Regions from separate parts of the Homo sapiens genome. Here region 2 is linked to region 1. Evidence: promoter capture Hi-C in 16 types of primary human blood cells and fetal thymus (Javierre and others, 2016). All regions are on one chromosome and are shown on one strand. Each heading gives the region's core, a stretch centred on a gene start or on the middle of the fragment in contact. The rest is flanking DNA. Distances are from core to core; before and after follow the strand shown. Region 1 holds the start of SPMIP8 (sperm microtubule inner protein 8). Region 2 holds the start of CSNK2A2 (casein kinase 2 alpha 2).

The links. The method cuts DNA at HindIII sites, captures the fragments that hold promoters and counts their contacts. A CHiCAGO score of 5 or more calls a contact.
Region 2: the fragment with the promoter of CSNK2A2 here is called in contact with the fragment with the promoter of SPMIP8 in region 1 in 17 of 17 cell types (total B cells, fetal thymus, non-activated CD4 T cells and 14 more); the score reaches 27.6 in total B cells.

What each region holds. Positions count from the first base shown.
Region 1 is chr16:57,972,723-57,978,296 of GRCh38, reverse strand. It overlaps SPMIP8 (sperm microtubule inner protein 8), which reads right to left and starts at 1,753. Exons shown (of 8, transcript NM_199456.3): 1 at 1,663-1,753; 2 at 258-482. The coding sequence starts at 480. The HindIII fragment of the contact is 9,202 bases long and covers 1-4,048 here.
Region 2 is chr16:58,195,025-58,200,308 of GRCh38, reverse strand. It overlaps CSNK2A2 (casein kinase 2 alpha 2), which reads left to right and starts at 2,203. Exons shown (of 12, transcript NM_001896.4): 1 at 2,203-2,676; 2 at 3,465-3,576. The coding sequence starts at 2,573. It also overlaps the pseudogene RN7SL645P. RefSeq lists silencers at 1,850-1,979, 2,030-2,299, 2,700-2,769. The HindIII fragment of the contact is 2,827 bases long and covers 846-3,672 here.

The DNA.
Region 1 (5,574 bases), core at 504-3,003:
AAGTGCTGGGACTGCGCCCAGCCTCTAAGTGTTTTTTGTGCCTTATCTCCTTCTAACCCCACAACAACACTTTGAGGTAGGCCTTGTCAATTATCCTCATTGTACTGAGCAGTAAACAGAGGCTCAGACCTGGCCAAAGTGTCCTGGGCAGGGAGCAGCAGAGCTGGGACTGGCCTCTTTCATCCTTGCATCTGTCTCCCTCTTTCCTGAAACCATCTGCCCCTTCCCCAAAGGGGATCCTACACTGGTGTCCTAACCTTTGCGGCAGTAGGTGGTGGACTGGCAGTGCTCATCAGGAAGGCAGGCCTTGACGGTGTCCCTGTCCATGTGGCGCAGGGTGGGCAGGGCTGGGTGGTAGAGCTGCTGCTTCACGCCCGCCAGCTGGTTGCGCTGCCGCTCCATGGGAAGCAGGATGGCCGGGGAGGCATACACATGTGTGGAGCCATCGTCCCAGGGCACCAGGTCAATGATGCGGGCCATAGCTGGGGGGCAGAGGGTTCTAAGGGGCTCACCCTGGGCTCATGCTGGCCAGACACCCTTCTCTGCATGAAAACAACCTTGGCCAGTGCCGATGTCTACTTGCCAAACATTTATTTAGCACCTACTGTGTGCCAGGCCATTTTTCTGGAGCTCAGCATGAGGTGGCAGGAACATTCAGATAACAGAAGATAACAGAGACAACCCTCCCACTCCCCTTCCAACACACACATACACACACACACACACACACACACACTCACATTGTGCCATGGCTGTGAGGGAGGTCAGTACAGAGTGTGTGTTTCTGGGGAGGCTGGGGTTAGGACATTCAAGGAATGGTCTAAAAGAGGTGGTATTTGAGTCTATTCGTTTTTTTTTCTTTCTTTCTTTTCTTTTTTTTTTTTTTTTTGAGACAGTCTCACTCTTCTGCTCAGACTGAAGTACAGTGGCGCCATCTTGGCTCAATGCAACCTCTGTCTCCTGGGTTCAAGTGATTCTCCTGCCTCAGCCTCCTGAGGAACTGGGATTATAGGCATCCACCACCACATGTGACTAGTTTTTGTATTTTTAGTAGAGACGGGGTTTCACTGTGTTGGCCAGGCTGGTCTCGAACTCCTGACCTCAAGTGATCCACCCGCCTCAGCCTCTCAAAGTGCTGGGATTACAGGTGTGAGCCACCTTGCCTGGCGAGTCTATTCTTAAATAATAAGCAGGAAAGTGCAGCAGCAAGCGGGTTCAGAATGTAGCTTAGTATGCCGTATACCTCTGGGTGAATAATTATGGACTTGCCCTAGCTATTTACCCAAAATTCTACAGATTGACTCAGAAAGATTTTCAGGAAGGGGAGCAACATGATATATTTAAACTAGAAAAGCATTACTGGATACCCAGTGCCTCCCTTTAAAAAGCAGATAGTCCCAGGAGCCTTTCAGTCATTTACACTTTAGTGAGAATTTGTTGAGACAGCTTGCTTTCTTCCTGACCCTGAGTTAGAGGTGAGAGGTGGAGGTGGAAGCTAGGGTGGCAGGAGGAGAGAGGACCTTAGATCATGGAGGAGCAGGGAGGGGGCATGGTGACAAGGCATGGGGAAGCTGCCTTAGGGGATGTGACTGCCTGGGGAGGGACAGGGAGGGGGATCACGGATATGGGGAAGAGAGCAAGGGCTCCCTGCTTCTGACTCACCAATAGCAGCTACCTTATCTGTAGGGCCCAGGCCCAGGTGCACAGGCTTATAAGGACTTTCAGTTCTTTGACTGCTCAATGGGCAGAAGAGGAAGGGAGGTGGACGAGCCCTTATTATGGACAGCAGCAGAATAAAGGAACATTGTGCACAGACAATGCCCATTGCAGCCTGATTCTGAGGCACCCACTCCTTAGCAACCCTGGCAACTACAGGCTCTAACAAGAGCCTGTGCCAGAATTCCTGTGCTCTGGCCACTCCCTTCCAGCCTTCCTGAAGGCTGTGGTCTCCCAGGCCTTAGCACAGGCCAGGCATCTTGGGAAATGTCAGATGGGGAGCTGGGGTTCCCTGGAGGTAGTCAGGCCAAGGCAGGCCAGAAATGGCTACTGAGCCCACTGCAGGCTGTGTAATCCTGGGCTAATTACCGCCTCTCTCTGGGACTCAAGGCTCTCCTCTGTGTTAGGCAAGGACTCTAGGATCTGCCGTTAGGAGGATCTGGATGCTGAGAGGGATCTCCCCTCCCTGGAACCCTCAGGGAAGAGGGCACTGCACTGTCTGCCAGCCCTTGAGTCTCCAGGAGTGGAGATTAGCTGTGGCCAGTATCCAGGGTAAGCGTGAGGGGATCAGGGAGAGTGGTGGACTCAGCAGGCCAGGGATTAGCAGATGATACTCCACCCTCAGCCCCTGCAGGACTGCAGGCTCCCAGAAAAGCCAGGCTGTGAGTGCCCAAGGCCAGCACCCCAAAGCCCTGGGGCCTGCCCACCATCCTGGTCACAACCATTAGAGACAGACCCCCAAGGTGAGGAAACCCCAGGAGATCCTAACTTATTTGCATATATTGGCATGTGCTTTTGCATATACCTGCCCAGGGGCTGAACCTGATGGGTCTTGGAGCCCCTCCTGTGAAATTCTTGTAGGATTTGTTTCCCCAGTTGCTCCTCCTCCAGTGCTCCATACAGCTTCCAGAACAGCATTCCTAACTGCTACCCCTTACAAAAAACCTTCCCAGAGTTGACTCCACTCACCACCCCACCCCCAATTTATTTCTTGACTCTTTTAAAGTTATAAAATAGAAGAAATACAGAAAGTGAATAAATATCTAATGTAACTAATAATTTACAAAATGAGACCCCGTATAACTACCACCCACCCTGGTCAAGACATGGAGTACTACTTTTAAAACAGTTTATCAGTTTCTTAAAAAATGAAACAGAAATGTACCATATGATTGGGTCATCTGGAAGATTCTACCCCAGGAGGCTTCCCAAGAGAAATGAAAGTATATTGTGAGGCACGATGGCTCACACCTGTAATCCCAGCACTTTGGGAGGCTGAGGTGAGCAGATCACTTGAGGTTGGGAGTTTGAGACCAGCCTGGCCAACATGGTGAAAACCTGTCTCTACTGAAAACACAAAAATTAGCTGGGCGTGGTGGTGCAAGCCTGTAATCCCAGCTACTCAGGACGCTGAGGCAGGAGAATCGCTTGAACCTGGGAGGCGGAGGTTGCAGTGAGCCGAGATCGCAGCATCGCACTCCAGTCTGGGCGGCAAGAGCAAGACTTCGTCTCAAAAAAAAAAAAGTATATATCTTCACAAAGACTTGCACACAAATGTTCATAGCAACATGATGTATCGCCAAAAAGTGGAAACAACCTGTGTCCACTGATGAGTGGATAAACTGTGGTGCGTCTATACCATGCAATACTCTTGGGCAATGAAAAGAAATGAAGTTCTGATACAAGCTACGAGGTGGATGAACCTCATAAAACATTACGCTACATCAAAGAAGCCAGATGTGAAAACTCACATATTGTATGACCCATTTATATAAAATGTCCAGGAAAGACAAATCTATAGACGCAGAAAGCAGATGTGTGGTTGCCTGGGACTGGGGTGTACGAATGAAGAGTGGTTATCATCTGGTGTGAGGGGTCTTACTGGGGCAACGGGAATGTTCTAAAACCAGATGTGGCAAGAGTTGCACAGTTCAGTCAATGTGTTAAAAATCATGAGTTAGGCCGGGGCGGTGGCTCACGCCTGTAATTCCAGCCCTTTGGGAACCCCGAGTGGGTGGATTGCTTGAGCCCGGGAGTTCGAGACCAGCCTGGGAAACATGGCGAAACCCTGTCTCTACAAAAAATATGAAAATTAAATGGGCATGGTGGCATGTGCCTGTGGTCACAGCTACTTGGGAGGCTGAGGTGGGATAATCACTTCAGCTCAGAAGGTCGAGGCTGCGGTGAGCTATGATCACGCCACTGCACTCCAGCCTGGGTGATAGAGTGACACCCTGTCTTAAATAAATAAATAAATAATAAGTAATATAAAAGTCATTGAGTTGTATACTTACCATGGGTGAATTTTATGGCATATATATTCCCATAAGCTTGTTTTGAAAAATAGATGCCAGCCAAGTTAGTAAAAGAAAGCAAGACATTGGCCCTGCCAGTCCCTAGAAGCTTCCACATACACCTTCCCAATTACAACCCCCAACCCAGCAAGAAGGAACCACTCTCCCATCTTGTAGTACAACCTGTGCTTTTATTTATGGGCAACTATGGAAAACTTTATTTAACAACTCTAGGCTTTATAGAAAACTAGAGGTGGCAAATGTACTTGTGTTTGTAGCCATAGACAGGACAGACTAATTTTGCCTTTTGGGAATTTTGTATGCATGGATCACTGGGGTCTTCTTTTGAATCTGGCTTCTTTCTCTCCATATATATGCACATGAGTTTCATCCAAACTTTAGCCACTGTGTGTGGCTGTGTTTTGCTCATTTTCCCCACCCTAGAGCCCACTACTGTTCCCTCAGGCTCATCTAATTTTCCCTCCTTCCCACTCTGCAGGGGCTCCAACTGCCTCTAAGTTGCCCAATCTCAGGACGCATTTCAAGTCTCAGCTCAGACAGTGGCCCCTTGGATCATTCCCTCACCCCAACACAGCCACTACTCTTGGCTTTCACCTCACCCCATGCTTCTGCTTCTCCATCCCCATCCCTGGCAGCTCCTTCAGGCTCCTTTACCAGCTCCTGCTCTTTTTGCATCCTCTGAGTGAGCCCGTGTTCCAGGTGCCACCTCTGGTCATCTTTGTTTCCTTGGGTTTCCGAGGTGATATCAGTCAGTCCTGTGGCTTTAAGCATCATCTGCAAGCTGAGGCCTCCAAAATTTCTATCTCCTGTAGACCTCTCCCTAAGTCTCACACACACACACACACACACACACACACACACACACATTTCAACCTGGATGTCTCTCAGACTTTTTTTTTTTTTTGCTTAGGCTGGAGTGCAGTGGTGTGATCTTGGCTCACTGCAACATCCACCCACCGGGTTCAGGCAATTCTCCTGCCTCAGCCTCCAGAGCAGCTGGGATTATAGGCACCTGCCACCACACCCGACTAATTTTTGTATTTTTAGTAGAGACGGAGTTTTGCCATGTTGGCCAGGCTGGTCTTGAACTCCTGACCTCAGGTGATCCACCTGCTTTGGCCTCCCAAAGTGCTAGGATTACAGGCGTGAGCCACTGCACCCAGCCTCTCTCAGACATCTTAACAAAGTAGTGCTCATGATTTTCCCTCCAAAATTCTTCCTCCAAACTTCCAGCCTCAGGCTTCTTCTTTTCAGTACATGTGTAAACCAGCCTGGGGCGGTTTACTGGTTCACCCACTAAACCAGCTACCCAGTTTCCCAGGGTGAGCCCCTCAATGCCCGCCTTTTTCCTCCCCTTTCCCTTCTATCTGTACTCCCACCAGCATAGTCCAAGCCCCATCATCCCTCCCGTCAGGCTGCAGGCAAGGGCGAATGTCACCTGTGTTAGTCTCAGGCCCAAGCAGAGCAGAAGGGCTTGCTGCTGTTCCTTGGGGAGGAGCTCTGACCCCTGCAGCCTGGCATATTTGTAGGGAAGGGTCAGGGA
Region 2 (5,284 bases), core at 954-3,453, 220 kb before region 1:
ATTGACTTTTTGAAGAACTCAGGCTAGCTGTTTGGCAGAATGTCGCCCAGCTTGGATTTGTCTGATGGTGTCCTTATCATTAGATTCAGGTTAAATGTTTTGGCAGGAGGACCACATGGGGGAGGTGTCCCTTCTCAGTGCATCACATCAGAGGATCAGTTGGTTCCCTACTGATGAGAAGTTTGGACCATGGGTAAGGTGGTGACCTCGTTTCCCCTTGGTAATTCCTAAGTCATCTGTGGGGTAGCACTGTATTTACTGAAGGTCTCTGACTGTGGCAAATGCTGGGAGAGTCAGTGGTGAGCGCCCACACTCTGTCCTTGCTCTTGTGCTGTTTTTACAAAGGAGGGGACAGACAATAACCCAGGAAACAAATAATGACAAGATATGCAGTTTGATGAAGGACGTGGATAGGGTGCTGAGATAGAGAAGTATCAACTCTAGAGAAAGTGATCTTTAAGCTGAGACTTGAGCTGGAGGCATGCCTGTAGTCCCAACTCCTCAGGAGGCTGGGGTGGGAAGATCGTTTGAGCCCAGGAGTTCTGGGCTGTAGTGTGCAATGCCAATCAGGTGTCCACACTAAGTTTGGCATCAACTATGATGACCTCCTGGGGCTGGAGGACCACCAGGTTGCCAGGTGGCAAACAGCAGGTCAAAACTCCTGTTCGGATCAGTAGTGGGATCATGCCTGTGAATAGCCACTGCACTCCAGCCTGGGCAATATAGAGACACCCTATTTCTAAAAAAATACTACTAATAAAGAAAAAGGTGAAATTTGAATAGGAAAAAGGAGACACCCTTGGGAAGGTGGGGTGGAGGGGTTGGGGGTGGCTCCTAGTTAAGCTTGGAGGATAGAAGGAACCAAAAGACGGATGCACGGTGGTCTCAGGGAGGGAGGAATGAGCAGAGAAAGGCCCTAGGCCTGGAAATAATCATATTGAACACATGCTATCCTAATAGTGAACACCATCCTAAGTGTTTCACATGGTTTACCTTGTTTAATTCTCCTTGCAGCCCTGTGAAGTGAGCGTTATTACTGGTTTTATGCTGTAGAATCTGTGACACAGAGAGGTTGAGTAATTGCCCTAAGGTCACACAGCTTCTAAGTAGCAGTGCTGGATAGATCTGACTCCACAGACTGTGCTCTTAGCTGTGTCAAGCAGGAAGGCCCAGGGTTTCATCCAGAAAACAGAATGTGAAAAGGGACTGGAATGAAAGCAACCTGTACTGGGTGCAGAGGTGCTGTCGATAAAGGATGAGGGATGGGAAAGGAAGACAGAAGAAAGGCCTAGAAGATCAAAGGAGAAGGGTGTTCAAGGCTGCAGGCAGCACTGGAAGCCAGGCCAGCTCAGTTGACCACCTACTCTGGGCACATCCCCAACCCAGCCTGTCCCTTCAGGTCGGATTTGCAATTCTCCTGCTCTCCCTCCTCCTAAACACAAACAGGAGATTTACACTCTCAAAGTCTCTCCCCACAAATGACTTATTAATCACAAAGGGAAAAATTGTAACTTTGCAGTGGCACAACCTGGTCAATGCCAGCTTAACCAAGTGACCAAAGTGGATATTCAGGGAAGGCTCTGGAAGGGCATTTGGGGGAAGTGTAGAAAGGTTTTGTGAGGAGCACTCTGAATGACGGGGGTAGGAAGCCTTGGGGACTGAGGAGTCTACCCTAACAGGGCAGGGTCCAGAGGGGGAAGGAGGGGTATGTCTCGGGGGAAGGGAGAAGTATTGAGGTGGGGGAGGTTCTGAGGTTTGAGTGAGGCCCTGGGGAGGGACTTGACAGTTTGGGTGACAGGAGGGTCAGAATAGGGTCAGTATGGGATGTGTTGGGTGGGTAAAAGCTGGGTGAGTGCAGGGCTGGGGATAGGGTCTCCAAGGACAGTGAAAGGGTCGGGAGTCGCGGGCGAGGGCTCTAGGGCAACGGCCAGTGGAAGGGGGGGCTCCTGTGGCGTGAAGTCAAGCCAGCCCGAGGGTGAGGCGATTTGGACAGTCCGACCTGTGGCGGCGGGAGGGCGAGGGTGGCGGAGGGCGCGAGGTAGGCGGCGGGGCGTGCCGGGGCGGGGCCGGGGCGGGGCCGGCACCGCCCGGCGGGTCCCCCCGCGCTCCAGGGGGCGCTGTGAGCCTGGGCGGCCCCAGGCCGGGCGGCGGCCGCTCCCAGTGAGCGCGGCCCCTTTTCCGGGTTTCCTCCGCCTCCTCCTCCTCTCCTCCTTCTTCTCCGCTGCCGCCGCCGCTGCCCCTTTCCCGGCCGGTGGCTGCCGCTGCCGGTGCCGCCGCCGCCGCCTCCTGGGGGCCGCGAGCCGAGCGGAGACCGCCGCGGAGCGCGAGCGCCGCCCGCCCCGCCGCCCCGCCGGCCGCTCCAGGGCCGGGCCGGCTCGGCCGGCGCCCCCCGCGCCCCCAGCCCGCCCGCCCCCGCGGGCCCGGCCTGGCGCGGCCGCCCGCCGCCGCGCTCCTCCTCCTCCTCCTCCAGCGCCCGGCGGCCCGCTGCCTCCTCCGCCCGACGCCCCGCGTCCCCCGCCGCGCCGCCGCCGCCACCCTCTGCGCCCCGCGCCGCCCCCCGGTCCCGCCCGCCATGCCCGGCCCGGCCGCGGGCAGCAGGGCCCGGGTCTACGCCGAGGTGAACAGTCTGAGGAGCCGCGAGTACTGGGACTACGAGGCTCACGTCCCGAGCTGGGGGTAAAGCCGTCGCCGCCCCCCGCCGGGCCCGCTGATCCCTGCCCCCGCCCGGCCACCCCCTGCGAACCGCACTCGGGCCCGGTGGTGTCTCCCGCCGACCCCTCCGCGGGCCCGCAGGGAGGCAGAGGTCCCGCTCTCGCACATGTCCTCGTCTTCCTCTTCCCTCCCCTTTACCCCCGTTTCGTCCCTTTCTCCCCGCTTTGCGCACCCCTTTCCCCCAAGGAATGCTTTTTTACTCGGGGAGAAGTGTGGGGTCCAGGGATCGACGCCGGGTGGAAGTGAGGGAGCTGCCCTTCCTCACACTTCTGGGTTTCCACTGGGGTGGGAAGTCAACAGCTGTCCTTTGGAGCTATTAAAATGCCCTGCCTTTTAGGTTTTCTGAGATGAGGTGGTGGGAGGAAATTTCTTAAAGACGTCCAGATTTTTAAAACAGGCATTGTCTACCTTGAAGATGTGAAACGAGAAGCAGGTGCTGGGGAGCCGCGGGGCACAGGGGGCACCCTCTAGGCCTTCAGGACGGGTGCTTTGCTCGCCCCTCTGGATTGGCTCAGAGCGTTGCCTTCCTGCCCCATCTTCCCAAGTTAGGAGAGACCAATTAGGTTAGGAGCTCTGCAGAGTGAAGGGAGCCAAGATTATGTCGTGGCTTTCATTTAGGGAATGAGTTGTGACGTGATGTATAGACACTTCCAAGTGTTTGCCTGGTGGAAGCGGCTGAATGACGTGTACAGTGGGCATAGGCTTGGTTAACCCCCAGTCCTGGCATTTATGTGTGTGTCTTCCTTTTACAGTAATCAAGATGATTACCAACTGGTTCGAAAACTTGGTCGGGGAAAATATAGTGAAGTATTTGAGGCCATTAATATCACCAACAATGAGAGAGTGGTTGTAAAAATCCTGAAGGTGAGTGTCCTATGAGTGGTATGTAACATTTTCCTCCCCACAGGGCAAAAGTTTGTAAGGTACCCCAGTCACATTCTATAATGGGCAATGCAAGCTTGAATTTAATTTAATTTATTTGTTTAGAGTCAGAGTCTCACTCTGTCACCCAGGCTGGAGTGCAGATCATAGTTCACTGCAGCCTTCAACTCCTGGGCTCCAGTGATCCATCTCAGCCTCCCAAGTAGCTGGGACTACAGGTGCATGCCACCACGCCCAGCTATTTTTAAAATTTTTTTGTAGAGTCAGGGTCTGGTCATGTTGCCCAGGCTGGTCTTAAGCTCCTGAGCTCAAGCAGTCCTCCAAAAGGACTCCTTGCAGGCCTCCTATAGTTGCTGGGATTAGAGGCGTGAGCCACTGTGCCCAGCCGACGCTCAAATTTTATTTATCTGATGTCCCTTCATTACTTCTTTTTCCACCCCATTTTCCCATGAACTTTCAAGAAAATGTGCAGACATCACAAATCTAAGTTCAGTAAAGTGTTTGTTCTAAAATGTAAATTCCCTAAAGCAAAAATTCCAAAAGGGCTCCGTTTGTTAGAAAATAAATAGGTAATCAAAAGACAGAAAAGCCACTCTCAATTTAAGGGCTCCCTGAGCACTGTGTTTGTTACTCTTGGTGCATGCTGTATGTTATTCCAGAAAGAAAGTTGGAAAAAATTGGAGCGACTTCAGAAATGTATTTCAAGCCCAAGTGGAAGGAAATTCCTTAGCGGATAATCACTTGTTTTTTTCCTTTGGCAGTAAAGTTTCAGGTGGTATGGATACAGTGCACCAGTAGTGCTGAGAAGCCTTGTTGGGAAGCCAGAGAGCCATTGTTGCTTATAAGCTAGTAAAAATATAGAAGAGTTCATGTATAATTACTAAAGTAATAATTGGAACAAAACTATCTTAATATATGGTTTAGCAATGAATTTGATAATGATATGACGTTATCTCTTTGATGAAGATGATTTTAATTAGCATGAAGGGTCGGCTAAATTTTCCTTCTGGTAACTGATTGTGTAGCTTTAATAATGTTTTATAGGGTATAGTAAAAAGTAGTTCTTAGAATCTGTGATGGGTCCTCGTTATTGCCGGATCATTTCATGTGGATACAAGTCATTTAGTGAGAGATTGAGAAGACCGAAGAGTGATGTAAGCACTTTGCATACATGTGATTTCCATTGTGGCCCTTTTGCAGAGGTTCTGTGGACTAGAAAAGCTGTGGTATAGAAAAGCTGTTTCTGTGTGCTAGGGCAGCTGGTATAGGTAATCCCTGTTTAATGTGAGGGGTCAGGCTTATGCTTTCTGGTAATCATCTTTCAGAAAAAATGATTAACTCCATCACTCAAAACATCCTAGCCTAGTGATAAAGGAGCAGAATTGCAGTAAAGAGAAAAAGCAAAGTTATTTGTGTTCTCAGACACACTGGGGCTGAGAAGTGAGGAACTGATGTTGAAGATACTGAGTGTGACTCCTCTCTTCCCTAAATATGAATTGCATTTATGAAGTCACAAGGTGGTTTTTTTTTTTTTTAAGTCACAGGAAAATTACCTTAGAAAGCCATACATTAGCTTTATGTACATAAGCATAAGTTTTCAATAAGCTGCTTCAAATCTAAGAAATAAGCAAAACGTAAATTGAAATTAGGAATATCCATATTCCACTGCTGTATATTCAGAAGAATGAAT